Regions from separate parts of the Homo sapiens genome. Here all the other regions are linked to region 1. The links are contacts of gene promoters, found by promoter capture Hi-C in blood cells and fetal thymus (Javierre and others, 2016). All regions are on one chromosome and are shown on one strand. The core of a region is centred on a gene start or on the middle of the fragment in contact, and the rest is flanking DNA. Distances in the headings are between cores, read along the strand shown.

What was found. The method cuts DNA at HindIII sites, captures the fragments that hold promoters and counts their contacts. A CHiCAGO score of 5 or more calls a contact.
Region 2: a contact is called between a fragment that was not itself captured here and the fragment with the promoter of TMEM97 in region 1, in 1 of 17 cell types (M2 macrophages). The highest score is 5.4, in M2 macrophages.
Region 3: a fragment that was not itself captured here is called in contact with the fragment with the promoter of TMEM97 in region 1 in 1 of 17 cell types (M1 macrophages); the score reaches 5.4 in M1 macrophages.
Region 4: a contact is called between a fragment that was not itself captured here and the fragment with the promoter of TMEM97 in region 1, in 1 of 17 cell types (M2 macrophages). The highest score is 5.4, in M2 macrophages.
Region 5: a contact is called between the fragment with the promoter of SPAG5 here and the fragment with the promoter of TMEM97 in region 1, in 2 of 17 cell types (fetal thymus and activated CD4 T cells). The highest score is 5.5, in fetal thymus.
Region 6: a fragment that was not itself captured here is called in contact with the fragment with the promoter of TMEM97 in region 1 in 1 of 17 cell types (fetal thymus); the score reaches 6.9 in fetal thymus.

Annotation. Positions count from the first base shown.
Region 1 is chr17:28,317,844-28,320,520 of GRCh38, forward strand. TMEM97 (transmembrane protein 97) reads left to right here and starts at 1,357. Exons shown (of 3, transcript NM_014573.3): 1 at 1,357-1,522. The coding sequence starts at 1,397. RefSeq lists enhancers at 1-461, 681-940, 1,421-1,480. The HindIII fragment of the contact is 1,585 bases long and covers 285-1,869 here.
Region 2 is chr17:27,833,579-27,836,255 of GRCh38, forward strand. No RefSeq gene overlaps it. Among named protein-coding and RNA genes, the nearest start is that of NOS2, 34 kb to the left of the region's middle. The HindIII fragment of the contact is 1,296 bases long and covers 672-1,967 here.
Region 3 is chr17:27,930,464-27,933,140 of GRCh38, forward strand. LINC01992 (long intergenic non-protein coding RNA 1992) reads right to left here. Exons shown (of 5, transcript NR_146896.1): 3 at 1,074-1,230; 4 at 144-262; 5 at 1-12. Among named protein-coding and RNA genes, the nearest start is that of LYRM9, 38 kb to the left of the region's middle. The HindIII fragment of the contact is 3,848 bases long and covers 1-2,677 here.
Region 4 is chr17:28,010,076-28,012,752 of GRCh38, forward strand. No RefSeq gene overlaps it. Among named protein-coding and RNA genes, the nearest start is that of LINC01992, 20 kb to the left of the region's middle. The HindIII fragment of the contact is 4,914 bases long and covers 1-2,677 here.
Region 5 is chr17:28,597,696-28,600,372 of GRCh38, forward strand. SPAG5 (sperm associated antigen 5) reads right to left here and starts at 1,330. Exons shown (of 24, transcript NM_006461.4): 1 at 1,201-1,330; 2 at 815-940. The coding sequence starts at 1,251. SPAG5-AS1 (SPAG5 antisense RNA 1) reads left to right here and starts at 1,438. Exons shown (of 3, transcript NR_040012.1): 1 at 1,438-1,551; 2 at 2,003-2,160. RefSeq lists enhancers at 992-1,536, 1,761-1,840 and a silencer at 1,241-1,550. The HindIII fragment of the contact is 7,511 bases long and covers 1-2,677 here.
Region 6 is chr17:28,038,206-28,040,882 of GRCh38, forward strand. The region is part of intron 2 of LOC105371709 (a long non-coding RNA gene); the gene reads right to left. Among named protein-coding and RNA genes, the nearest start is that of NLK, 3.1 kb to the right of the region's middle. The HindIII fragment of the contact is 1,495 bases long and covers 629-2,123 here.

The DNA.
Region 1 (2,677 bases), core at 107-2,606:
TCCAGCTACTGCCCCATGTCTTCTCCCCTTCGTGACCAGCTGTCTACACTTCCTGCCTCCATTTCCCCACTTTCTTACTCCCTGGCTCCTGCCCCCACGACACAACTGTTCCCCACAGGGCCACAGGCGGGCATCACTCAGTGTTGACAGGCTGCCCCTCCCTGTGACATAGCCCCCTGCTAGTACGCTCCTATCTCAGTCCCCTCCTCCCATGACCTGAGGCTGGAGCTCCCCCAGGATCTCTCCCAGGCCCTCTGCTCGCCATCAAAGGCGGATGCCTCACAAGCTTACGACTCCAGACAGGCTCACCCAACTGCCTCCTCCACCCAACGCTGCAGCCCACTCAAGGTCCACGTAGTCCAAGCTGCATTCCTTCCTCGCACTCCCTTGCCCTGTGTCCCCTCTTAGCAAATGGCAGCCTCGGCGATCCTGCCCCGAGACAGGCCTGCGCCCAGCGTGGAGATGAACATCAGTATTTGCTGAACGTGTAAACGAATCCTTGACCTTCCCTCATGCTCCACAGCCGGTGAGGATTCCTGTCCATTTTACTGCCTCCTACGTCCCTCGAGTCCTCCCCTCTGCTTCTTTGTTCACCGCGGCCAGCTGCCTCCCCAGACCCGCAACCCCGGCTGGGCCGGGAACCTGCACCGCGGCGCTCGTGCCCCGCTCTGCGACCCCTGCTCCGTGACGGCCGCACTGCACCGGGGTACCGCGGCCCAGCACAGGCGCTGGTCACTAGTACACGAACTAGCTAGGACTACAGGTGCACACCACCACACCTGGCTAATTTTTTATTTTTTGTAGAGATAATGTCTTACTAAGTTACCCAGGCTGGTCTTCTGGGCTCAAGCCATCCTCCTGCCTCGGGCTCCCAAAGTGCAGACATTACAGGCATGACCCACCGTGCACAGCGTCAGCTTTATTTTTTTAATGCTGACTTACTGCAGAAGGCCCAAGGGCCAGTGCAGTTTTCATACTGCTGTTGTAGTGGCGAACGGAGCCACGAGGGAAGGGAGCGCCGCCGGCAGCTGCCGGGACACCAGGATACCACGCGGCCAGCACCGAAACGCTAGGCTCGCGCTCACAACCGCAATCTACACTGAGTAGCCGCGCGCCGAACGGCGTGACTAAGCCCCGCCCACACGGCGCTCCTGGCGGCCAATGGAAATGGCTTACGAGACGCCTTCTCCACGCGCTATACTTATACGGACCAATGGGTGCGCCCTGTGGGGAGTGCCGCCCCCTGTCCACGAGCCTCCTCTTCTCGCCAGCCAATGGAAGCGGTCTGCCTAGCCCTCGCGGGGGCAAGGCGGCGACCGAGGCGCGTGGGTCTGGGAAGGCGCGCGGATTTGGCCCCTCTTCTCACATCAGCGGGTCCAGGCCCAACCGACAGACTATGGGGGCTCCGGCAACCAGGCGCTGCGTGGAGTGGCTGCTGGGCCTCTACTTCCTCAGCCACATCCCCATCACCCTGTTCATGGACCTGCAGGCGGTGCTGCCGCGCGAGCTCTACCCAGTCGAGGTGAGGGGCGCCCCTCTTATCCCGGCCCGCTGAGGCTCTCCCGGCGCTGCGTCCACAGGGCCTTCACCTCCTCCGCGCTCGCGCACTCTGGGTTCCAGTTGCCTCTCTCGGGTCCTGCCCATGCCTCCCCCGCTCCTAACCCAACTTTAGTTCGGTGTTTTCCTCGGGCTTTGTCTCTATCCCAGCCCCTTCTCCCAAGCGGCGGGGGCGAACGCTTTGTTTCCTTTAAAGTCACTTCTTCCCTGGGTTTAAGGTTTCCCGCGATTCCACCTCTGGCCGGTTGTCAGTGTCTGAGGGAAGTAGTCTGGATGAAGTGGTGTCCAAAGTCACATGTTAGGTTTGCTTTAAGCTTCTGGTTTTTTGTTTGTTTGTTTGGAAGGGCTTTAAAATACCAGTCTGATCCCAAAGAAAAAATCCGAGTAGAAATAGACCTGTCTGAAGGTTTAGCACCTTGGTTGGTGCAGCTGGGGCGTTCACAGATCGTCACTGCTTCGAGATCAGGTTCCAGCAACTTCCAGAGCTCAGGAGTAAATTGCCATCTTTTCAGATTGGCTCTTCAATATTGGGTTCGAGTAACAATGATCTCCTGAGTAAAAATAAAGGTGAAAATCCCGATTTCCTGGTTGTTGGAGAGCATTCTTTCAACCCCAAACTCTGCTTTAATGCTTTGTTTTTTTCTTCAAAGCTATAGTTTTAGTTTCCCGGTTCGTTGAGGTTTTTTTCTCGTATCTGGACCCTGTGACCTTCTTCCATGGAATTCCTGTCCTCAGTTTTGTTTCTCCATCTTATCTATAACTGTAGGCAGGACTGACTTGTCTACCCGAAGATTTTATTTTGCGTCTGTTTTTCCTTAAATGCTTTTTATCTGCCGAGGAGGGGTTCTTTACCTGAGGGTCATGAACTCCCAAAAATGGGTGCAAGTGTGTGTGCCTTTTGTTTCCTGCAAGGAGAATATAGCTTCCATCGACTTTTCAAGGGGCCTAACTCTCCCAAAAAGGCCACGGCTCAAGAATGTTCTACCACTCCCATAAGTCACTCTTTTTTGTTTGCTTCTAGAACCAAACACAACTGGAAGACCTCTGACCTCCTTTTGCATGGGAAAAGCGTAGGTAGCGTGTAGCAAGTTGCAGTCTGGGGACTTGGTTCTTCCAAGAA
Region 2 (2,677 bases), core at 70-2,569, 480 kb before region 1:
TTACCTCCCACTGGTTTTCTCCCGCAACATGTGGGGCTTACGGGAGCTACAATTCAAGATGGGACTTGGGTGGGGACACAGCCAAACCATATCAGATATGTTCTGAGAAATGCATCATGAGGTGATTTCATTATTGTGCAAATATCATTGAGTGTACTTACATAAACCTAGATGGTATAGCCTACAGCATACCTTGGCTATATGGTACAGCCTATTGCTCCTAGGCTACAAACCTGTACAGCATGTGACTGTACTGAATACTGTAAGTAACTGTAACACAATGGTAAGCATTTGCATATCTAAACATAGAAAAGGCACAGTAAAAAAATACAGTACAAAAGTTTTTTTCAAAGGTATACCTGTAGAGGGCACGTACCATGAATGGAGCTTGCAGGACTGGAAGTTGCTCTGAGTGAATCGGTAGGTGAGTGGTGAGTGAAGATGAAGGCCTAGGACATTATTGTACACTACTGTAGATTTACTGTACATTTAGATGACACTAAATTCATTTAGAATTCCTTTCTTCAATAATAAATTAACCTTGGCTTACTATAACTTTTTTACTTTATAAACTTTTTAATTTTTAAAAAACTTTTTGACTCATAATAACACAGCTTAAAACACAAATACATTGCACAGCTATACAAAAATATTTTGTCTCTATTCTTATAAGCTTTTCTTGTTAATTCTTGTTTTTTTTTTTACTTTTTAAACTGTTTTATTAGAAACTAAGGCACACCACACATTAGCTTAGGCCTACACAGTGTCAGGATCATCAATATCACAACTGCCTTCCATCTCCACATCTTGTCCCACTGGAAGGTCTTTGGGGGAACAATGTGCATGGAGCTGTCATCTCCTGTGATAACATACCTTCCTCTGGAATACCTCCTGAAGGACCTGCCTGAGGCTATTTTATAGTTCACTTAAAAAAATAAGTACAAGGAGTATACTCTGAAATAACAGTAAAAAGTATATTGTCATATTCACATAGTCAATAAAAATGATAGTTATTTGTTTACATATGTATAGGAAATACACAAACCAGTAACATAGTCATTGTATTATCATTATCAAGTATTATATACCTTACATAACTGTCTGTGAGATATTTTTGTACAACTGCAGCACGGTAGGTTTGTCTACACCAGCATCACCACAAACATGAGTAATGCATTGCACTTGGATGCCAAGATGGCTATGACCACACCCAGACCTGCAACGCTGCAGGTATTAAGACCAGAGGTGTCTCCCTACTGATCCCAGCAAGTCCATTTGTGTGAAAACAGACAGGGAGCTGCCAGAAGTTCAAATGTAGGATTTCAAGTGCCCAGCCAAGTCATTGGCTCCCAGAATACATAATGAAAACCAACAACAAACAAATCGAAACAGCTCAGAAGCAAAGCAAAGTGCTATTGGAAAAGCAGCACCAGTGCTTTTGTGAGATTCAGAGATATAATCCCTGCCACCTCCAAAAAGAAGCAATAAGAACAATTATGTAAGATTCTTTAGGGCAAGGACTGAGATAGAGCAGGGACCCCTCATAGGAGCCTGTAGGCCCCTCCCTGCAACATGGAAATAAAGGAAAAGAGTTTCTTCAAGGGAAACTCCAGGCACCTAGCTAGCCCTGAGAAGAAAATGAGTGACCTGATCATTAAGAAGGTAATAGTAGCTTAAAACTATAACCAAGGAAGTTAGAGTCACAAGATGTTCCCTGTAGAACATTATATTTATCCCTTTATCCCTAACGATAACGTCTTAACATACGTTTCTCTGAGTTGTTTTTCAGGTACCTGGACCCCTACCAAATGGATCCACTAGCACACAGGCCTCAGATAAGGGGGAACTGCGGATTGAACTCTGACCACTCCTCTTTCTTCTGAAGTTCTTCCTGAGGGACCTGGAGGAAATCATACCCACAAACCAGAGCTTACATTCTTTTCTACTGACCCCAAATTTTTAGACAAAGCTTTGCTTCCTTAACCAATTGCAAATCAGAAAATCTTTGAATCTTTGAATGCTTTGAGACATCCCCCCTTTTTAGGTCAAAGCAATATATAGCCTCCATGTATTAATATGTAGTTGTGCCTGTAACCTCTGCCTCCCTGCCTTAAAAAACCCTTAACAAGCCATCGGGGAAGCCAGGTCTTAAGCATGAGCTGCTGGATTCTCCTTGCTGGGCACTCGCAAATAAACATCCTCCTTTCTCCCACTGCAAACCTTGGTGTAGATGTTTGGACTTACTGTGCCAGGTGAGTGGTCAGTGGATCCCAAGTGGATTCAGTAACAATTAGTTGGCAACTACAAAGGGGCGAAAGTCCCAACCGGTGGCCTTGCCCATGGCACACCAGCCCCTGGCTGCAGCCACCCTTGGACCCTGTCCGGCAGTTGGCTGAATTATTTTGCTCAGGGATGGATCCATGCATTTTATGCTTGACCAGGTGTCATGGGCCATGGCATTTTTACTTTTGTAGCATTAAAAATAAGGCACTGGGCTTGGAAGATGTCCTTCGTAAGTGGTAGGTTTGTGGGCAACAGCCCCAAGGTATTTTTTTCTTTGGACACTGGGTTCTGCTTTGGCAGGACAACTGACTTTGCTTTGGCAAGGCCCTGGGCCCTGCTTTCTTAGAGTATTTGGTTTGATTGGGGATACTCACTAGAGAGCTGAAGGGATCCA
Region 3 (2,677 bases), core at 107-2,606, 390 kb before region 1:
CGGAAACCAACTCTAAGTGATTTAAGCAGGAGAGAAAGTTATTTAAGGATATTTATAGTTCACAGAATCTCTGGAGGAGCGGGGGGCTAGAAAACCAGACTTGAAGACTACACAGAGAGACTCCGAGTCCCCCTGGGACTGACCTGAGATGACCAGGGAGCTGGTATTTTTAGCTTCCAGAGGTAAATAACAGCCTTCACTTCCATCAAAACTCATTAGGTAGAAAACACACCAAACATGGGAAAGGCGTTCCGGAGCTGGGCTACCAAAGAGAATAATAAATGTTCACTATAGTTTCATCTTCTAGTTTTGTACCATCCCTGAAACATTTTCTTTTTCCTCCAGGAGCCTCAAAATTACAGTTAAGTCTACAGTCAGACAGAAGGAAACTGGCATTTATTAAACACCAACTTTGTGCCTGGAAGATTCACTTACAATATCATAATCTTTACAATAACTCTGCAATATGGATCTCATTATCAGCATTCTTTTTTTGTTTGTTTGGTTGGTTGGTTTTGGTGGTTTTAGTGTCAGGGTCTCACTCTGTTGCTCAGGCTGGAGCATGGTGGCATGATCATAACTCACTGCAGCCTTGAACTCCTGGAATCAAATGATCCTCCCACCTCACCTCCAAGTAGCTGGGACTACAGGCATGCACCATCATGCCCAGCTAATTTTCTTTTTCTTTTTTTTTAAGAGGTAGGATCTTGCTATAATGCCCAGGTTGGTCTCAAACTCCTGGTATCAAGTGATCCTCCCATCTTGGCCTCCCAAAGTGCGGGAATTACAGGTGTGAACCACTGCACCCAACCTCATTCTCAGCATTCTTATTATGTTTTGTCTTATTATCCTCCAAGGATAGGTTAAGTAATTGTTATGGGTTGAATTGGGTCTCCCCAAAATTCCTATGTTAAAGTCCTAATCCCAGTATCTCAAAATGAAGGTAAGGTCTTTATAGAGGTAATCAAGTTAAAATGATGTTATTAGGATGGGCATTAATTCAATATGACTAGTCTCCTTATAAAAAGCAGACATTCACACACAAGGACACATGCACACAGGGAATATGATACCTGAGATTAGGGTGATGCGTCTGCAGGCCAAAGAATGCCAAAGACTGCCAGCACACCACCAGAAACTGGGGGAGAGGCATGGAACGGATTCTTCTTCACAGCTCTCAGAAAGAACCATGCTGCTGACACCTTGATCTTGGAATTCTAGCCACTGGAACTGTAAAACAATAAATTTCTATTGTTTAAGTCATCTAGTTTGTGAGACTTTATTACCATTGCCATAGCAAACTACTACAGGAATTCACCTCAATTCTCATAGCGAATGAGAAGCAGAACCAGATTTGAACACAGGTCTGGCCAATTCTAACACACCAGCCTCTTCACTATGACTGTATCATAATTTCCCTCCACCAAAAACTCTGGGGTGGTCTATAGCCTACACTTAATGGTGATCAGATATTTTAAGCTGAAGGACCTAATTTTGGTGGGAAAGATGCCAGTTTGGGTCATGTTGAGTTTAGGTGCCTGATAATACCCTGGCGTTCAATAAACACTTGGATATATGAATCTGAGTTCAGGGAGATATCCAAGCTCAAGAGAGGCAATCAGAAGTCATTAACACACAAGTAAAAATGGAAACCCTGAGTGTGAATCAGATCAACAAGAAAGAGCACACTAAGAACCAGTGGGCCTAGGATGATCCCTGGAGTAGCAATGATTTCTTTTTGCCACCTTATGTCCATTTTTTTCCTTCTCCCATAGTAATAGAATTTTTAACTGAGCACATGGGCTTCAGAGTAAAGACTACACTTCCCAGGCTTCCTTGCAGCTAGGTATGACCATGTTCAGGCTAAAGGGATGTTAGTGTCACCTTCCTGAAAATTCCCTTATGAGGTAGTTTATGCCCTTTATTTACTCTTTTTCTCTGTCTTTCTTCCATCTTGCTCCCTGGAACTTGGATGTTGCCTTGATTCACAAGGATGAGGATCATTCCCAAGGAATTGTAGGGCAGTTAATTGGAAGAGGACTGTCTTAGTCCATTTGTGTTGCTATAAATGTATAGCTGATACTGGGAATTTATAAAGAAAAAATCATTTGGCTTATAATTCTGCTCTCTGGGAGACTGGGCATCTGGTGAAAGCCTCAGGCTGCTTCCACTCATGTCAGAAGGTGTAGGAGAGACAGCACGTGCAGAGACCACATGGGAAGAGAGGAAGCTAGAGGGGGAGGTAGGGGAGGAGCCAGGCTTTCTATCAACCAGCTCTCATGGAAGCTAATAGAGTGAGAACTCATTCAGTCTCCCTACCCTCCAGGGAAGGCATTAATCTATTCATAAGTGATCCACCCCCCTGACCCAAACACCTCCAATTAGGTCCTATCTCCACCACTTGGGATCAAATTTCAATATGAGATTTGGAGGGTACAACATCCAAACTAGAGAAAGACCTGTGATCCTGAGGACTTCCTGAAGTGGAGATGCCATACCAGCTCTGGACTGCAAATATCTGGACATTTGTATGACAGCTAAACAATTATCTTGTTCAAGTCAATGTTGCTTTTTTTTTTTTTTTTTTTTTTTTTTGGTTATTCTTTGCTATACCCAATCCCAACTAATATACACGGTGAACACCAGGATATAGGAGGTAGACATAGGAAAGAGATCA
Region 4 (2,677 bases), core at 108-2,607, 310 kb before region 1:
GGAGGTAGAGCTTGCAGTGAGCCGAGATCGCGCCACTGCACTCCAGCCTGGGCAACAGAGTAAGACTCCGTCTCAAAAAAAAAAAAAAAAAAAAGAGTTCCTACGAGTACTGAACTGACCCTACTTCTGGAAGGCAAGAAAATGAGCCAGGATTTACCATATAACAATCATGTACACAAATCTCGAGTTGCAAATCTTTACACATGCTATCTCAAGGAGTTGTCACAGCAACTCTGGGAGGTAGGTGTTACTATCACTGTTTCACAGATGAGAAGCTGAAGTTTGAGGAGGGGTCACAACTTACTTAAGACCACTCAGTTTGCAAGTGGCAGAGGAAAGATTTATGCTCAGGTCAGTTTTGACACCAGACTATAGTGTTAAGCCACTGTCTGTGACATCAGAAACTCCAGTAGGACAAAAGGCTCTGATGGCATGATAGGGATTGAGTGTGGGGCATGAAGTTGCTGATTCCAGAATGAATGTGGGAGGTTCCAGAGAATCCTCCACATCTGTGAACCAATGCCTCTCTAAAGTTGTCTTAGAGGCACAGGCTGGTGCTAGGACAGCTGCATTAGAATCATCTGGTGGGCATGTGAAGAACGCAAAGAGCTGGATTCCATTCCCAAAGAGTATAATCCAGTAGCTGATATGTTTTGGATGTTTGTCCCCTCCTAGTCTCATGTTGAAACGTGATTCCCAATGTTCACAGGGCCTAGTGGGAGGTGATTGGATCATGGAGGCAGATCCCTCATAAATGAAGTATCATCCCCTTGGTGATAAGTGAGTTCTCGCTGAGTTCATGTGAGAGCTGGTTGTTTAAAAGAGTGTGACACCTCTTCCCTCTCTCTTTCTTGCTCCTGCTTTCGCCATGCGATGCACCTGCTTCCCCTTTTTCTTCCATCATAATTGGAAGTTTCCTGAGGCCCTCACCAGAAGCAGATTCTGGCAGTGTGCTTCCTGTAAAGCCTGCAGAACCATGAATCAATGAAACCTCTTTTCTTTATAAATTATCCAGCCTCAGATACTCCTTTATAGCTATACAAATGGACTAACACAGCAGGAGTGTAATCAAGCCCAGGAACATGAACATTAAAAAATGTCTAAGTGATTCTGATGCATAGATAGATTTAGGAACCACCACTGCCCTTGGCAACATTTATAATCCTCAGGGTTCCTCCTTCTCCCTTTAGTTGTAACATAATCCCCAGGGATTCAGAGCCAAGACATAGTTCTGAAGGAGGAGCTATAGTTACCATAGAAGTGATCACACATGCGCCATTGCACTCCAGCCTGGGCAACAAGAGTGAAACTCTGTCTCAAAGCAAAAAAAAAAAGTGATCACACAGACTCAGACTGGTTAGAACAGAGTGATTGTCAATCAGAAGCAGTGGTGGCATGTGTCAGTACCAAGGACACTTTCTCAACCTCAGTGCACTCACCTCAGTGGAGAACAACTGCATTAGGAGTGTTTGGTTATCCTAGAAATGAGCTTATTGGGGCATAAGAGATAACTGTTTGCTCAGGGATCAATGTTAATCACTTCTGCATTATTACAGAGAAGCCACTGCTTTCTTCATCATATGGCACATCTTCCAGGAGGACTATCTACAGGAATGTCTCATGTGTTTTGCCCATTACAACTAAAGGGAGTTTGCACTTGGGGGTTCTCGTTAGACTTTTCTGGTTAGACATCTGATGCTTCCTTCTTTGGGTTTTGAGTGGTCTGGGACATGTCAATAGCTTCCTGCACACCAAAGGAGGTCCGAGATCAAATGGCCTTGGGTATAAAAGTACATCCATGTGCTGTGTGGGTGGTGGGAACTATGGTGAACTGCCCAAGAGAGATGCTACTTCTCAGTTTCAGTCTATCCCTGCCATGCAGAAATGCAGGATCAGTATTACCAGAGCTTCCGATATGAGAGATAGAGAAGGAGACAAGGAGAGGGAGGTGGAGAGAGAGAGAGAGGCATAGACAGAGAAGAGAGAGCAGATACTGGGATTTCTAAATATTGGCTCAGATGAAAGTTAAAAAAATATGTGGGCCACACAAAATATTTCTGTAGGCCACATCTGGCTATGTCTGCCAAAGAAATAAGTTCCATTTTGGAAGCTGCAATTCCAAAGCACCATGCTTAGTCACCATGCTATGTTGATTTGGCCACCTCTCAGGGTGAACCTCTTAGTGTGGTCTTTGCTTTTAGGGAGAGAAACTGAGGGAGAAAGGTGGGACAGAACCATTTCTTACTGTCACCAACAGGCTCTGGTAGATTGCTCTAAAGCAACTTACTGACACACTGACAGATTTAAATTTCCACTGCTGAAAACCACTCATATCTTACTGTTGTCCAAACCCAAAGAATCAAATGGCCAACTCAATGCTGTTAGAATTTTAATAGTAATACTGGTTCCTCTTCCTCTTATCTTCCAAATCTCCCATGGAAAAATGATCATCTCCATTGACAAGCACCGCCATCTGCAATTGGAGTAATCTGAAGCTGGCATTGTACTCTGCTTATCTCATCAACCCAGATTCCAAGGAGTTGAGGGATTTGATCATTTATGAAGGGGATTCGACCTGCATTTCTACCCTCTACCACCACAAAGTAAATTGTGAAATCATTCACCCTTTTCTTCACTTCTAAATCCCTGTAGTGTCCATCTTTCCTGTTGCAAAGAA
Region 5 (2,677 bases), core at 80-2,579, 280 kb after region 1:
ATGCATGAAAATGAATAGATACGATTAATGAAATAACAAAGTCATGGTCAAAAAAGAGGAAGCAAAACTTCCTATACAGCTATAACAGTAGCTGTATGTGATGATCCAGTTTGGCCTTGAGCTTTCTAGAAGGCAGAGCAAGAGGGAAAATATGGTAAACTACATAGTTCTCATTATCAGAAAGAAAAGGATAGCAATTTCTTCAGGAAGACAATTTTTCCAGGCAGTTAGTCCTAAAGCCTTTCTTGGAGGAATCTTATACAGGAGTCAAGCTGCTTCCTTGACAAGTTTTGACAGCAACTGAAATGCAGTTTCTACATGGCTACGTCTCTCAAAACGTTTAACAAAAGTACAAATCAGTGAGGGCAATTCTGCAAGGAGCTAGTTTAAACTAAGGTGATTCAAGTACCCTACCTTCCAGTGGTGTAACTTGATCCCAGGAGAGTTCTAACTACCTCCTAGAGTAAATGGATATTGCCTCAATCTTGCAGGTGACTGACCTTTCCGTAAGTGACCCCATGTTGGAGGAAGAGCACTAATCAGGGTGGTAGGATTTCTCAATAGTTTGATAAAGGTCGAAGGGAGGAGGAGGAGGTAATAAAAACTAACAGCTAAACAGAGATTCAAGTTCTCACTGGATTTCCTTTAACCACCCTAGGGCACCTCTCTGTTGGCCTGAATAGCTGTAAATGGATGTCACCGACGTAGAAGACTTCATTATCGTTATTAATTATTGTAGCCCTGGCCCTCTGTTCCCCTGAGCTCTCACCCTGGGCAAACAGCCCAGTCGAGAAGCTGTCCAGGCGAATCTCACCTGCAGCCCCAGCTTGCACAGTGATGGGGTCAGCGAGGAGCAAGCGGGGGATCTTTTTCCAGAGTTGGTGAGGGCACCGGGCTGCAGGGTAAGTTCACGGAGAGGAGTTCTCATAGATGGTTTTCCCTGAGAAAGAAACCAAGAAAGAGGGCGAGTGTGAGGAAGCCTGGGTTCTGCCAGCCCGCCCCTCCTCCCTCCCTAAGAAGCCCAAAATGCGATTAGAAGAGTACGCTCGCACCCTAGTCGCGCAGGAGCAGCAAGGCGAACAAAGACTCCACAAGCCCCCAACCCCGGGCTCGACCCAACTTTCCAGGACAGTAGACACGGCCGGTGCCCCCGCGACAGCAGCCCGGCCCAGTTCTCTCCGCCAGAGATCTCCCGCTTACCGTCTGGGGCGAAGGCGACAGGCTGAGGCTCAGTTTTTTCACTCGCCACATCTTCAACCAGAAGGCAGGCCTATCACGTCTCAGACCAAGTCGAGGACGCCATGTTCACCCGCCGTCTGTGTTTGAACCTGCTCTGCGCTTCCTGGTTGGCTGCTTCAGGCGCGCGCGTACGCTCGGGGGTAGAGCCCGGGGGGCGGGGCCCGCGTTGACCACGCCCCCGGCCCTGCCTGCCCCTCCGTTGTCGAGCGTTTTCCGCTGACGGAGCCCTCACCTCAGACACCGGCGGTAGGGCTGGATGCGGGCCCGGCCCAGGACCGGTCTTCTGTCCTCACACCGGGGAGGACCACGCAGGTAGCTGGAGAGTCCAGGAGTCCATCCCTCCTGCTTCCAGCGGACCTCCTCACATCCATGGTGTTCATATCCAAGTTGTCTCCGTGGATGGAGAAGAGGAATCCTCTCCCTAGGTCTCCCTCAGTCCTCTCCAGCCGCAGCCTTGACGGGAAAGAGCCGGCCAGGGAGTCTAGAAGCCGAAGCGGTGCCGAGCGGCTTCCCTAGGCTTGGTGGGCCCGCGTCCGGGACGGCCCGGGCCGTGGTTCTCGACCTGGGCTGTAATGTCTCCAGAGTTTCTGGGCTTTTCCTGGGACTTACTCAGGCCGGCTACCAGTTTACTGGGCTAACCGCCTACATGTATTGAACATTGAGTGTGTGCCTGGCGCTATGCCGAATGCCGTGTAGTAGCTCATTTAATGCGCATAAGGACCTACGTAGTGAGAAATACTATAAATATCCCCATTTGTGACAGGAAGGAGCTGAGTCAGAGAGACCGTGTGTAATTTGCTCAGCGTCACACAGATAGTAAACGGCAGAGCCGCTCTTCCTCCCTGTCCCGCCAGCTCCTGCCTTCTGCTGTCTTGGATCTCCTATGCACGGGAAACCTGTTGAAGGTAGGACAGCCGAAAGGTCAGTATTCAGAGTGAGCCGTTTGCGAAGGTGTGTGTGCTTTGCACACTCACGGCGCCCTGTTTACACTCTGCAAGTCTTAATACATAGGGGGAAAGCAGCAGTCCAAAGAGGAGGAACTATGATGTTATAAACTGCAGCGTCCTCAGGGACGGGCTCCTCTAGCATTGTGTTGTCCAGTACGTTAGCCCTAGCCATAGTGGCTTTTGAGCACTTCAGATGTGACTAGTCCCAGTGGGAATGTGCTATAAATGTAAAACACTGTACAAACTGGATTTCAAACACGTCGTATGAAAAAAAGAATGCAAAATATCGCCAGGTGCGGTGGCTCATGCCTGTAATCCCAGCACGGAGGAGACAGAGGCAGGAGGATCCTTTAAGCCCAGGAGTTCGAGACCTGCCTCGGCAATATAGTGAGACCTATGTCTACAAAAAAAAAATTTGGGCCGGGCACGGTGGCTCACGCCTATAATCCCGCACTTCGGGAGGCCGAGGCAGGCGGATCACCTGAGGTCAG
Region 6 (2,677 bases), core at 126-2,625, 280 kb before region 1:
GGTCAGGAAATCGAGACCATCCCGGCTAACATGGTGAAACCCCATCTCTACTAAAAATACAAAAAATTAGCTGGGCGTGGTGGCGGGCGCCTGTAGTCCCAGCTACTCAGGAGGCTGAGGCAGGAGAATGGCATGAACCTGGGAGGCGAAGCTTGCAGTGAGCCGAGATTGCGCCACTGCACTCCAGCCTGAGCGACAGAGCGAGACTCCGTCTCAAAAAGAAAAAAAGAAGGGACACAAACTCATCATGAGTCCAGAAGCATCTGTACATCTATCTCCTCTCCCCCACAGTTGAAGTTAGCACCATGCCTAGATATAATTGGTGCTTAATACATGTTTGTGGAAGGAATAAATAACTCTTAATGTACAATTGTTTTCTCGTGGATTAGATTAATTTATTTATTTCACATGTATCAAGCACTTTCTATGTATTATTATAGTACTATACTAAGCGCTGAAAAAGAAAGTTTACAAAGACTAAGCTCCTTTACTCTAGGCCTGTGCTTCTTAAGCTCTAGCGTTTGTAAGAATGACCTGGAGAGCTTGTTAAACAGATTCCTCCTCTCCTCCTCCAATTCTTATTCAGTAGGTCTGAGGTGAAACCAGATAATTTGCTGAACATCTAAGAAGCTTTTAGGAAACTACACTTTGGAGGAGAGTGCTGTGCATTGGAAAATTGGAAACATCTCAAATATTACATGAGGGTGAGTGTTGAAGAGAATTTATATTGCATTTTCACTATTTGCCAAGCACGTTTAAATACATCACCTCATTTAACCCTCATATAGACCTCATGAGTCATGTATTATTTCAGTTGAGGCAACTGAGATTGAGAAAGGTTAGTTAAGTTGCCTAAACTATAGAGTAAGTAAATGGCAGAGCTTGGGTTTGTACCCACTTCTGCACTCAGTAATTCAGGCAAATCTGTAGCAAGTGTCTTCTTTTTTTTCAGGCACTGTCCTAAGGAACTGGGCATACAACATTGAGTGAGACAGACAAGCTCTCTGTCCCCGGTCAAACTCAACAAGCACTTAAAATATCGATATGAGGGAGGCAGTGTCATGGAGATATACAACAGAAACGTATACTCTAGAACAGAGTTAGAACTTTCCAGGAAAAAAAGTAAAATTTACACGAAGACCTGAGGGATGAATTAGAGCAGTGAAGGATGAGCGGGAAATGTTTTGGGCTGAAGATATACATGAAGGCTTGAAAGCATTCAAGGAGCTGCAGGAAGTTCAGAATGTCTGAAGTGTGGAGTGGAAGGGAGAGATAAGACCCTTGAGGTAGGTAGGCAGGAACCAGATCATGCCAGGCTATTTAGGGGTACAGCCAGCCTTTTTTTTTTTTTGACAGGATCTCACTGTCACCCAGGCTGGAGTGCACTGGTGGGATCTCAGCTCACTACAGCATCTACCTCCCTGGCTCAAGCTATCCTCCCACCTCAGCCTCTTCAGTAGCTGGGTCTAGAGACATGTGTACCACTAATTTTTGTATTTTTTGTAGACACGGGGTTTTGCCACATTGCCCAGACTGATCTTCTGAACTCAAGGGATCCACGTACCTTGGCCTCACCAAGTGCTGGGATTACAGGTGTGAGCCACTGCCCCTGGTCTCAGATTTGTATTTTTAAAAATTTACTATGCCCCCAGAGGGGGATGGATCAAAGGAGAGCTAGCTTGCAGGCAGGGAAATGGTTAAAGATGTTAGTGGTGTAAATTTGGGTAAATGCTGTGTGACTGGGAAGTAGCAGAAGTGAGGGGGATTTAAAATTGTTTAAGACTTGATGATTCAGCCTGGGCAACATGGCAAAACCCCATCTCTACAAAAAAATACAAAAATTAGCCAGGTGTGGTGGCATGTGCCTGTAGTCCCACCTACTTGGGAGGCTGAGGTGGGAGGATCATCTGAGCCCAAGAGGTGGAGGCTGCAGTGGGCTGTAATCATGCCACTGCACTCCAGCCTGGGCAACAGAGACCATGTCTCAAAAAAAAAAAAAAAAAAAAGAAGACTTGATGACTGATAGATTGGAAGGGACAATGTGGACAGGCAAAGGAGGGATCGAAGATGACTTCCAAGTTTTTGAGTAAACTATACAGTTTCAGTAGGGATAAGGTTCTGTAAGCTTATTATTTCACATTTTAAAGGAAGGGTAAATTCAGATAAATGAAGTGATGGAAAGATGCTATTTTAGTAAGATTTCAATGACAGAAACTTACTTGATAGAAAATATGGGAGAGGCTGGAGGCGGTGGCTCACGCCTGTAATCTCAGCACTTTGGGAGGCCAAGGTGGGAGGTGGGAGGATCTCTTGAGCCTAGGAATTTGAGACCAACCTGGGCAACATATTAAGACCCTGTTTCTAAAAAATTAAAGAATCAGCCGGGCATGGTGATGCACATCTGTAATCCCAGCTACTCGGGAAGCTGAGGCGGGAAGATTGCTTGAGCCGGGAGTTGGAGGTTGCAGTGAGCTAGGACTGTGCCACTGCAGTCTAGCCTGGGTGACAGAATGTGACCCTGTTAAGAAAGAAAGATAGAGGAAAATTATTATTTTTGTGGTCAAGTTTACTTTTTTTGTTTTAATTTGCACCAACAGCTTTATCATTTGTCGACAGTGGAGTTCTGAATGCCAGAGATTCCTCCTCTTTTTGCCAAGATCAGGATTAACTATGGAGA